Regions from separate parts of the Homo sapiens genome. Here regions 2 and 3 are each linked to region 1. Evidence: promoter capture Hi-C in human tissues and cell types (Jung and others, 2019). All regions are on one chromosome and are shown on one strand. Each heading gives the region's core, a stretch centred on a gene start or on the middle of the fragment in contact. The rest is flanking DNA. Distances are from core to core; before and after follow the strand shown.

What was found. Contacts are between HindIII fragments. The study calls those that stand out against the background at their distance.
Region 2: a fragment that was not itself captured here is called in contact with the fragment with the promoter of GPX1 in region 1 in 3 of the 25 tissues and cell types used here (bladder, dorsolateral prefrontal cortex and lymphoblastoid cells).
Region 3: a contact is called between a fragment that was not itself captured here and the fragment with the promoter of GPX1 in region 1, in 10 of the 25 tissues and cell types used here (aorta, dorsolateral prefrontal cortex, hippocampus and 7 more).

Annotation. Positions count from the first base shown.
Region 1 is chr3:49,356,556-49,360,489 of GRCh38, forward strand. GPX1 (glutathione peroxidase 1) reads right to left here and starts at 1,798. Exons shown (of 2, transcript NM_000581.4): 1 at 1,472-1,798; 2 at 621-1,192. The coding sequence starts at 1,723. The coding sequence ends at 833. It overlaps RHOA (ras homolog family member A), which reads right to left. Exons shown (of 5, transcript NM_001664.4): 5 at 2,590-3,827. The coding sequence ends at 3,654. RefSeq lists enhancers at 1,474-2,082, 1,991-2,320, 2,083-2,691 and a silencer at 1,771-1,830. The HindIII fragment of the contact is 32,276 bases long and covers 1-3,934 here.
Region 2 is chr3:49,110,163-49,114,096 of GRCh38, forward strand. USP19 (ubiquitin specific peptidase 19) reads right to left here. Exons shown (of 27, transcript NM_001199161.2): 17 at 3,830-3,931; 18 at 2,327-2,467; 19 at 2,122-2,240; 20 at 1,749-1,886; 21 at 1,338-1,651; 22 at 1,093-1,203; 23 at 788-1,004; 24 at 549-701; 25 at 282-442; 26 at 22-200. Among named protein-coding and RNA genes, the nearest start is that of QARS1, 7.4 kb to the left of the region's middle. The HindIII fragment of the contact is 5,151 bases long and covers 1-3,934 here.
Region 3 is chr3:49,136,209-49,140,142 of GRCh38, forward strand. All of the region lies in intron 1 of LOC124909377 (a long non-coding RNA gene), which reads left to right. Among named protein-coding and RNA genes, the nearest start is that of LAMB2, 5.1 kb to the left of the region's middle. RefSeq lists a silencer at 28-322. The HindIII fragment of the contact is 9,716 bases long and covers 1-3,934 here.

The DNA.
Region 1 (3,934 bases), core at 548-3,047:
GTCAGAAGTCTATCATTTGAGTTAGGCAGTCAACCATTGCCTTGTGTCTTTTTTGAAGTAAGGACTTTGTTGTAACTGGGTCTTGAGATGGCCCTTTGCATGTTCTGGTGAAGGCAGAAATGCAGGCCAGGAGCCAGACTTCCCACAAAGGAAAGAGTGGATCCTACACGCTGCAGACAAAAGGACAGAAAGTTCAGACTTGGCTAGGATAAGGGAAGGAGGATTAAGTTCCCACCACTATGACAATGAGGTTAGAAAAAGTATCGCCAGGCCGGGTGCGGTGGCTCATACCTGTAATCCCAGCACTTTGGGAGGCCGAGGCGGGTGGATCACGAGGTCAGGAGATCGATACCATCCTGGCTAACACGGTGAAACCCTGTCTCTACTAAAAATACAAAAAATTAGCCGGGCGTGGTGGCAGGCACCTGTAGTCCCAGCTACTCAGGAGGTTGAGGCAGGAGAATGGCGTGAACCCGGGAGGCGGAGCTTGCAGTGAGCCTAGATTGCGCCACTGCACTCCAGCCTGGGCAATAGAGCAAAAAACTCCGTCTCAAAAAAAAAAAAAAAAAAAGAAAAGAAAAAGAATTCCCAAATGACAATGACACAGGACATACACACAGTTCTGCTGACACCCGGCACTTTATTAGTGGGGAAACTCGCCTTGGTCTGGCAGAGACTGGGATCAACAGGACCAGCACCCATCTCGAGGTGGTATTTTCTGTAAGATCAGGTGTTCCTCCCTCGTAGGTTTAGAGGAAACACCCTCATAGATGAAAACCCCCCCGAGACAGCAGCACTGCAACTGCCAAGCAGCCGGGGTAGGAGGGGCGCCCTAGGCACAGCTGGGCCCTTGAGACAGCAGGGCTTCGATGTCAGGCTCGATGTCAATGGTCTGGAAGCGGCGGCTGTACCTGCGTAGGGGCACACCGTCAGGGCCCACCAGGAACTTCTCAAAGTTCCAGGCAACATCGTTGCGACACACCGGAGACCAGGTGATGAGCTTGGGGTCGGTCATAAGCGCGGTGGCGTCGTCGCTGGGAGCTGGCAGGGCCTCCCGCAGGAAGGCGAAGAGAGGGTGCGCCCCCGCACCGTTCACCTCGCACTTCTCGAAGAGCATGAAGTTGGGCTCGAACCCACCACCAGGCCGGACGTACTTGAGGGAATTCAGAATCTCTTCGTTCTTGGCGTTCTCCTACAGGAGAGAAGGGCAGCTAGAACCCGGGGTCAAGAGGAGGAGAGAAACGTTCTAACCACAAACAAGGGAGATTTTCTATGAGTCACCGGGATTTTGCCCTCCATGCGCAATCCCAAGGGCGGAGAGGAATTTCAGCAGCTACGAGCAACAGAAAGGAAACGAGAGAGTAGCCAGACTCTCCGCGCATGGAGCCGACGGCACCCACCAGCACACCGCCGGCGCCCCCAGCCACTACTGCACGTCCGCCCCCGCCCCGCCCCGCTCCGCCCGGCGCACCTGATGCCCAAACTGGTTGCACGGGAAGCCGAGCACCACCAGGCCCCGGGGTCCGAGGCGCCGCTGCAGCTCGTTCATCTGGGTGTAGTCCCGGACCGTGGTGCCTCAGAGGGACGCCACATTCTCGATAAGTAGTACCTTGCCCCGCAGGGAGCCCAGGCTCACAGGCTCCCCGCCGGCCAGCGGGCGCGCCGAGAAGGCATACACCGACTGGGCCGCCGCCGCCGCCGCCGCTAGCCGAGCAGCACACATGGCGCAATTGTCCAAGAAGCCAGCGGAGCGCCCCGAACAAGCACTGTAAGGGGAGGCCAGCAGGCGCCTCCTTTTAACTGGCCGGCGGCGGGTCACGTGGCACAGGCAGTTTTCCGGGCCTGAGGGTCCCGCCTCATCCGGCCCCCGCCCTACCCGGAGGGCTCGGCCCCTCCTCAGCCAGGAAAAGGCTGGAGAGTGCGCCCGAGCGGGACGCGTGCTCCTCCTAAGCCGGAAGGAGCAGCAGGCATGTCTGGTCTGGCCCAGGCAACCAGGCGGCAGCGGTCCAGGTTACCCTTCCAAGGGCTGGGGCCCTCGAGGGCTCCGTTTTTTCTCAGAGGTTCCTGAGTTAGGATGTGGGGTTTGGCATAGGAGGCTGGTGGGCGACGGCAGCAGCTGCAGGAGCTGCCCGTGCACAAACAGCCCTCCTCTCCTGTGCCATGTTACCGGCAGTGCAGGGGACAGCCAGAGGGATCTAGGCTTCCGGTCTCCCTCCTCCCTGTCTCCAAAGCGGCACCGCCCTCGTGCGGGTTTTCTAACCGGGCAGAGTCCTGGAAGCTCTGCCCCAGCCTCCTTAAGTGGAGCCCAGTAGCTCGCCGAGGCCAAGGAAACGCTGCCGGAGTCCTCCCTCCCTGGCCTCCTCAGGCTGCATTCACCCTACCCCCAAATCTGAACCAGAATGCGGTACAGGGTAATCATTTCCATGTTGTTGGGAGGGACCAGATTAGCTGCTGGGTGGGTGGGAGGTGGGGCACAAGCTAGTCCTTTGCACTCAACAAACCTCTCCAGGGTGAGCTAGGCCAGGAAGTCCTTGCATCCTCCTACCCCCAGCCCTGGAGAGAGCAACACAAACAACAGGATACAGGAAGTTTAGAAAACTGCCTTTATTCTATTAGTAGTTGGAAAAATTAACTGGTACAGAAAAAAAGTTTAGTCAGCTGGAGAGAAGAGAGACTGAGTGCCACCCATGAGAACTGGTGGCTCCTCTGGGAGGGAACCTGGATACAGTGAGGAGAAAAGAGCACTGTGAATTAGAGCCAGATGCTTAAGTCCAGGTGAGACAGGTTATGCCATCTTCCAAAGTGTCTAATTGCCTCAGGCGTGAAACCAATTCCTATTTACTTAGCCCAGCTCCATGGGGTACTGAGATACATGGGGCCGAAAAGGGGTAATATGGCCATCTTTTATCAGAAAAAGTGACAAAACGGGAATTTAAAAAATGAATTTTCCATCTGACTTTATTTCCAAATACACTTTCTTTTTTAAAAAACCAATACACTTTCTTTGAGGATGACAGTATTAGGAAATCCAATTATACAAAAAATACTACATCTAGTCTGGGGTAGATATATTTATTTTTGGTAACATACATTAAGTGGCACTAATTACACAGTAACTATAAGGTAACTAACATGAAACCACAGAACTGTAACTCTGCCACAGCTGCATGAACTTGGGCTTTTCTGGTTGAGCCCATTTTCAAAAAACTGCCCACCCCAGAGCTATGCCAACAAAATCTGTTACGGAGTAAAGCCCTGAAGTGGTGACTCACCAGAGTACCTTGCAGCTGACAGATAATAGGCAGGACATGTTAGTTATAAAGTAGTTACAGCCTAATTCACAAAAGTTACCAACTGTTTCTCTTTCTAGAAAGAAGCAAGAAGTTAAGAAATTCCTTGAATTAGCGCCTGGTGTGTCAGGTGGGAGTGCAGAGGAGGGCTGTTAGAGCAGTGTCAAAAGGACCCTGGTGGGCCAGACGGGTTGGACATCGTTAATAATCATAGTTGGCTTCTAAATACTGGTAGCAAGATGACTTCTGATTTGTAATCTTAGGTAAATTATAGATAAATGAAAAAGGCCAGTAATCATACACTAAGATTAATAAACAGCACTTCAAAATTAACCGCATAAGGGCTGTGCTTGCAGCAAGGTTTCACAAGACAAGGCACCCAGATTTTTTCTTCCCACGTCTAGCTTGCAGAGCAGCTCTCGTAGCCATTTCAAAAACCTCTCTCACTCCATCTTTGGTCTTTGCTGAACACTCCATGTACCCAAAAGCGCCAATCCTGTTTGCCATATCTCTGCCTTCTTCAGGTTTCACCGGCTCCTAGCAAAGAAAAAAAAATAGTCCTTTTAGCTAATAGTGTGGCATACATATAGTAAGTAAAAAGTATTCAAATTCATCTAAAAGATTTTTTTTTCTTTTTTTGAGAC
Region 2 (3,934 bases), core at 977-3,476, 250 kb before region 1:
AAAGCCTCCCACATGCCTCACCTGGCTGGCAGCAGCCTCAGCTGCAGGGCCTAGGTCTGGGTGGTGCTCAGAGTGACCTGCCCTGGGGGGCCTCTCCACAGGAGAGTTCCGCCGGCGGTAGAAGAGTACATAGGCATAACGCGTCACAACCTGGCTCTCGTCTACCGTTGTCACTGTGCTGTCATCAAACAAGCGCCAGCCTACAGCAGGGTGGGAAGAGTGTGAACAAAGTCTGCACCACCACCCCTACCACCTATCCTGCTGGCTGTGTGTGCCCTCACCCACGTCACTGCGCTGACTGCTACGATCATTGGGCAGGCGTGCACAGGCAGTGTAGTGGCCACCAATCATGCCTCCATAGTGGTTGATGACAGCATATAGATCGTAGCTGGGCAGCTGCTCCTCTTTCTGACCAATGCAGAACTTGCTCAGGTCCAGGTTCCTGCAGGTCAGGTCCAGTCAGGGAGGGGTGAGACAGGCAACAGGCGCTCAGGATGCCCATCCTGGTCCTCACACCCCACCCACAGTTACCAAGGTCCACTGCTTACCTAACAGGGAACTCCACCAAGTCATTGATCTTGTCACGCCAGATAAAACTACGAAAGGAGAAGCGCTTGAGCTGCACGATGAGAACATTTGGCAGGCGCCATAGCAACAGCTGCTTGGAGGCCTCACGGTGCTGTTTGCACTGTGGGCAGTACCTGGTGGGGACAGAGATTGGGTCAGGACCAGCAAGTCTCTCTCTTCTCCATCCTGCCCCCTTATCTACTTGCTGCTCTGTTCTCACCAGGCCTCCTCGGGTGCCAGCACCTCAGGCCGTGTGAAGAGGTTGAGGCACTGGTCCAGGGTGAAGTGGCCGGCCCGGGCAGCCTCACCGGCAGAGCCTGGATCCTCAGCACATTCCAGCTCCTTGGAGGCTACCAACACAAACTCCTGCAAGCGCTCATTGTTCCGCCAGACGAGAGCCAGGCTACAGTCGTCACCCAGCTCCAGTGGGGTGTCTCCTGGAGATTCGCAGGGAGAGAGGTCATGCAGCTGTGGAGAACAGCCAGCTCAACCCACCCCATGGCTCCCACCCACAGCCTCAGACACCTTTGTCCTCTAGCCGCTGCTCTCGGTTGGATGAATCAATTTTATAGATGAAGAACTGGGGTGTGTGGGCATTCATAGCTTCACTTGGATGCTGGTACCCAGGCACAGCAGCTGTGTGAGAACATGATAATCAAAGCTTCCCTGCCCATCAGGGCCTCACCAGGCCCACCAGGCCCTAAACAACAGCCCCCTCCATCCTCCCTTATCCTCCTCCCCAGCTTCTAGAGCCTTTCACTGGATCTTACCTTCGGGTCGGGACACCCTCTCGCCAGCTGGCAAGGAGCCAACCTCAATGGGCCCACTGGCCAGCATCTCAGAAGAAATTCCACTGGTGCTGGGCACAGGACCCCGGTCAGGGGCTGCCCACACCCGGGGAAGCCCTGTGTCCCCCTCAGCCATAGGGGTCACCAGCTGGAGCTCAGGTGGCTGAATGGGGTCTCTCTCGCTGTCCCCAGCCTCCAGGGAACCTGTGGAGAGCAGTGTGGTGCAGCCAGGGCTCTGAGACTCCAAGGCCATGCGGCCTGGCTGAAAGGGTGGCTGGAATACACTCACAGAGTACCTGGCAACAGAGAACAACGCAAGTAAGACTCCTGACCAGCCCATCTAGCACCTCTGCCCCCACCTACACCACTCTAGTCCAACCACTGGGCACTTACCGGGCATAGCCCTCTAGCAACTGAGCGAGGCGGGCATAAGTGAGGCGTGAGGCAGGTACACTGACCAGGAAGGGGTAGCCAATGTTCTCAGGTCGGCAGAGGCCCTTGTGGTCAGGCCAGTGGGTTTTCTGGCAGAGCCTGACGGGAAGAGGAAGACAAGGATAGGCCCTTAGCCCCATCTCCTATGACTCCATACTGGGGGCTAGTCATAGTCCCTGGGAACTGGGTACGCCAGCCCTGCCTCCCCCAGAGCCTGGTAAAGTAGGGTGGCAAGTAGAAAGCTTAAGCATATGTGCCTTGGTGTGAAGGGAAGGAGCAGGGTGGCACATGGAAGGTGGAAAGAAAGGGTAGGGGAGACCATGGGGGTCCTCACTGGTTGCAGTAGCCCACACGGTAGCACCGGGTACAGCGCTTCAGCTTTTCATCCTCCGACTGTTGCTTCCGCTGGCAGGCTGCACACTTGGAGATGGGGACGCTGGGCACCTGGGGGCGCTAGGGTGGGTCGTCTGGCTCAGCAAGACCAGGAAGAAGTGCCCCACCCACCAGGGCGCTGTGCCATCAGGTTGGCCCCCACTCACCTGTTGCACCTCTAGCACCACTACCCGCTCCTTAGCCAACTCTGAGGATAGCAGCTCAAAGCAGAGGAGCGTATCAGATGGGGACACAGTGTCCAGTGAGTGGGAGGGTAGGAACACACGATGAAAACGATTCTTAATTACCTGGGGACAGAGAACACACAGATCCCACGTGAGGATAAGCCCTTTCCCTAGCCCTGCCCCAGAGTTTAAGAAGGCTTGGCCCTGCCTTGGGTCTATGTGGGCAGTGGTGAGGTCTGTAGGCCCAAATAGGCTTATGCCTCTGCTGGCACCTGTCTCAGTGCCCAATGCCATAAGGAGCCTGGTGCATCAGAGGGCCTGAAAGACCAGGTGTGAGGCAGATATCAACCACACCAGCTCTCCACACTGAGGGACTCTGCCCTGCTATAACTAGCATAGCCTTATAAGACTGTAACATATTATCATGGAGGGTCCACATTCAAAGAGCCTCCTCCCCACTCTTACCCCTAAGAAAACCAACACTGTCAGGCTAAAGGCTAGGAACCCCTGGGGAGAGCTAGCACACACAACTGGGATAAAAGGAGAGAGCAGCAGGATAGAGGGAGAGGCAGAGCGAACATAGGGATAGTCCTGCAGCTCAAGCTCCTTGTCTAAAAAGGGAAATGCAGTTGGGATCCACCACCACAAAGGGGAATAAACCCTGATAATGGCTAGGAACTGAGGGCACTTCTGTTGCACAGAAAAAATAACAGCACATCGCCTGTTTTTGTACAGTCACAGGCATACTCATGTGTATGTCTATTTTTATTTTATTTTATTTTATTTTTGAGACAGAGTCTCACTCTGTCACCCAGGCTGGAGTGCAGTGGCGCGATCTCGGCTCACTGCAACCTCTGCCTCCCAGGTTCAAGCGATTCTCCTGCCTCAGCCTCCTGAGCAGCTGGGACTACAGACATGTGCCACCACGCCCGGCTAACTTTTCCTGTATTTTTAGTAGAGGTGGGGTTTCACCATGTAAGCCAGGGTGGTCTGGATCTCCTGACCTTGTGATCCATCAGCCTTGGCCTCCCAAAGAGCTGGGATTACAGGCATGAGCCACCACGCCTGGCCCTATTTTTATTTTTTTATCTATTTATTTATTTATTTTTGAGACAGAGTCTCACTCTGTCACCCAGGCTGGAGTGCTGTGGTGCAATCTCTGCTCACTGCAACCTCCACATCCCGGGCTCAAGTGAGCCTCTTGCCTCAGCCTCCCAAGTAGCTGGGACTATAACACGTACCACCATGCCCAGCTAATTTTATTTCTTGTAGAGACAGTGTTTCACCAAGTTGCCCAGGCTGGTCCCAAACTCCTGGGCTCAAGTGATCTGCCCACCTCGGCCTCACAAAGTGCTGGGACTACAGGCATGAGCCACTGTGCCCAGCCCATGTGTATGTCTGTAGATGCCAATGACTGTACACACGTCTGTGGTGAGTACACACACACATCCACACATGTGATAGCCCAAGGAAGGACAAAGATACCTCCGCCAAACGCAGGTTCTCAGGCTTCACATGAACACTCTGAGAGAGGGAGTCCAATACTTCGCTCGCAGTGGAGTTCTCCTTGCTGACGCTCACCAGGAACTG
Region 3 (3,934 bases), core at 689-3,188, 220 kb before region 1:
TCAGCTTTGGGCAGCTTCTGGCCCATGGCATCCGGTACAGGGAGAGCACCCTGGATCTGACCCAGCAGAAGAGCAATGCCTACTGCCCCCACCTTGGGGAAGGGGCACTGACAGCCAGCTCCACACTTGTGGTGTCCACACCTTTGTCTGTGGGGAAGAGGGTAGGGATCTTAGGCCTGAACCCTGAACTCTGAGCCAACAAACCCTGACCCTAGCCTCTCACTGATCCTGCCTTAGACACAACTATCCAGTGGTGTGCTGGAGGCTTACAAGAGGCAATTGTTGGCCGGGCGCAGTGGCTCACGCCTGTAATCCCAGCACTTTGGGAGGCCGAAGCAGGCAGATTGCCTGAGCTCAGGAGTTCGAGACCAGCCTGAGCAACACGGTGAAAACCCATCTCTACTAAAATACAAAAAATTAGCCAGGCATGGTGGCATGTGCCTGTACTCCCAGCTACTCAGGAGGCTGAGGCAGGAGAATTGCTTGAACCCGGGAGGCGGAGCTTGCAGTGAGCCAAGATCACACCACTGCACTCTAGCCTGGGTGACAGAGCGAGACTCTGTCTCTAAAAAAAATAAAAAATAAAATGATAATAAAAAAAGGGTAATCCCAGCACTTTGGGAGGCCAAGGCAGGCAGATTACAAGGTCAGGAGTTTGAGACCAGCCTGGCCAATGTAGTGAAAACTCATCTCTACTAAAAATAACAAAAATTAGCTGGATGTGGTGGCGGGTGCCTGTAATCCCAGCTACTCAGAAGGCTGAGGCAGGAGAATCGCTTGAACCCAGGAGGTGGCGGTTGTGGTGAGCCGAGATCACGCCACTGCACTCCAGCCTGGGTGACAGAGCGAGACTCTCCCTCTCAAAAATAATAATAATAATACTAAAATAAAAAGAGCCAATTGTTAAATTTTCAGGAATTTTGCAAATAAGTTGTCAAATGGTATGGACTGAAATCAATCATGATAGCATTACTTACATCATGGATATTGACAAATGCTAAAAATCAGTTTCCCCTGACTCACAGCCAGTTGTTAAAAATTTATCTACACACATGGCCAGATGCGGTGGCTCACGCCTGTAATCCCAGCACTTTGGGAGGCGAAGGCGGGTGGATCATGAGGTCAGGAGTTCAAGACCAGCCTGGCCAAGATGGTGAAACCCCGTCTCTACTAAAAATACAAAAAAAAATTACAGTGTGCCTGTAATCCCAGCTACTTGGGAGGCTGAGGTGGGAGAATCGCTTGAACCCGGGGGGCGCAGGTTGCAGTGAGCCGAGATTGCACCACTGCACTCCAGCCTGGGTGACAGAGCAAGACTCCCTCTCAAAAAAAAAAAAAAAATTTACGCACACACTAGTGTTCCCACTTGACCCCTGGTCAGCCCTGATGAATATTCCTCATTCTGGAAGGAGTATCATGATAGTGTCCTGCATACCCTATTAACCCTGCCCTTGGCTGTGAACAGACATGCAACAAGCAGATATGTACCCATGAGGAAGCGCTGGATGATCTGCACGGCTGCTTGCATGTGGGTCATGGCAGTCATGCCCCAAGGTCCCCTTTCCCAATACCATGTCTCCTGTGCCTGGATTCCTGTGGAGCTTGCTATGGCCTGGATTTGCTGCAGCTGGTGGGCGTGGGTCAGATGTGGAATATGTTGCCTACAACACCATGTCCAAGCCATGGTTTCCTGTGACTCCCCCATGGCTCCCACCCACAGTCCCCCTGGCTGTGTACCTGTTGTTGATGCTGCTCCAAGGCTGTGACTCTATGTCCAGGCTATGGGAGGAGTTGTGGAAGGCAACAAGAGCCCACTGAACAGTGGGCAGGGTCCCAGGTTGGAGGGAGCAGCCTGTGCCTGCTACAGTACCCAATCTAGGACCTGCAGGTGTCCACCCTGGCCCCTAACACCCCCACCAGGCATCCCCTAGCATAGGGTGGCCACCTCTTGGGCCACAGCTTCCAGCTGCAGTGGGAGCAGAGCCAGGAGTTGGTCTCAGAAGGTGAAGCAGGTGGGACAGGAGGTGCAGTGTGGGAAGGCACCTCTGGAGCCATGAGCACATGCCTGGCACCTCAGCCCTAAGATGCCCTCTCTGAAGAAGCAGGTGCCCATGTGTGAATCACAGCTGGGCAAGATGGAGCCCTGTGGGTCACAGGCACAGGCTGCAGAGGAGAGATAGGGTCAGGGTAGAGAGCAGATGACACTAGCTCTAGCCTTACCTTCGAGAGACCTGAAGGATGGGCCAGGTGCAGTGACTCACACCTGTAACCCCACCACTTTGGGAGGCTGAGGCAGGAGGATCACTTGAGCTCAGGAGTTTGAGACCAGCCTGAGCAACATAGGGAGATCCTGTCTCTACAAAAAAATTTAAAAATTAGCCAGGTGTGGCGGCGTGTGCTGTAGTCTCAGCTACTCAGCAGGATGAGGTGGGAGGATCACTTGAACCTGGGAGGTTGAGGCTGTAGTGAGCTAAGATCATGCCACTGTACTCCAGCCCAGGTGACAGAGTGAGACCCTATTTCTTTTCCTTTTTTTTTTTTTGTGAGACAGAGTCTCGCTCTGTAAGTGTAGTGGTGCGATCTCGTCTCACTGCAACCTTCACCTCCCAGGTTCAAGCAATTCTCCTGCCTCAGCCTCCTGAGCAGCTGTGACTACAGGCAACCGCCAACATGCCTGGCTAATTTTTTTTTTTTTGTATTTTTAGTAGAGACGGGGTTTCACCATATTGGCTAGGCTGGTCTTAAACTCCTGACCTCATGATCTACCCGCCTCGGCCTCCCAAAGTGTTGGGATTACAGGCGTGAGCCACTGTGCCTGACCCATGAGACCCTATTTCTGAAAAAATAATAGGTCTGTGGGAGGCTAAGGTGGGTGGATCACTTGAGCTCAGGAGTTCAAGACCAGCCTGGGCAACATGGAAAAACCCCATCTCTACAAAAAATACAAAAATTAGCTGGACATGGTGGGGCACACCTGTGGTCCCAGCTCCTCAGGAGATAAGGCGGGAGGATCCCTTGAGCCTGGAAGGTTGAGACTGCAATGAGCCAAGATTGTGCCACTGCACTCCAGCTTGGGTGACAGAGTGAGAGCCCGTCTCAAAAAAAAATGTCTGAAGGGGCTGAGCACGGTGGCTCACGCCTGTAATCCCAGCACTTTGGGAGGCTGAGGCGGGCAGATCACGAGGTTAGGAGATTGAGACCATCCTGGCTAACATGGTGAAATCCCGTCTCTATTAAAAATACAAAAACAAAATTAGCCGGGCGTGGTGGCGGGCACCTGTAGTCCCAGCTACTCAGGAGGCTGAGGCAGGAGAATGGCATGAACCTGGGAGGCGGAGCTTGCAGTGAGCTGAGATCTCACCACTGCACTCCAACCTGGGCGACAGAGCGAGACTCCGTCTCAAAAAAAAAAAAAAATACTGAAGGATGAGAATGGCCCTGTGTAGGTGTGAGGGTGCACACCAACCCTTGCCTAAGCCACTGCTCAGAACTGCCATGGGCACTGGCATTTACCCTGGACAGAGAGGCCATACTGCATGGCAGTATTTGGGCAGGAAAACAGCACAGGGTTCCAGGGGCTCTACAGCCCTGTCAGGGGTCAACCAGAGTCAAGGGCTGGCAGGCAGGGTGAGGAAAGAGCCACCTGATGTGTCCTCTCTATAGGCATCCCTCGCCTAGCCTTGCTGTTTCCCTTCAGCTGTTTTCACAAGTATTTCTTTAAGTTCTTTGGGGAAACAGCAATAAACGTGCTGTGTTCTCCCTCAGGAAAACCCCAAACACTCCCTTGCTACTCCATATTGAGCAGCCCCTGCAGGGCAGCCTCACCCCTGGCTGTGGAATGTGCAAGTGCCCCTCTCACCTCTGCACTCCTGCTCAGGGTCACCCCAATACCCATTCTGCAACTGGGAGCATTTGCAGCTCCCAGACGCTGCCC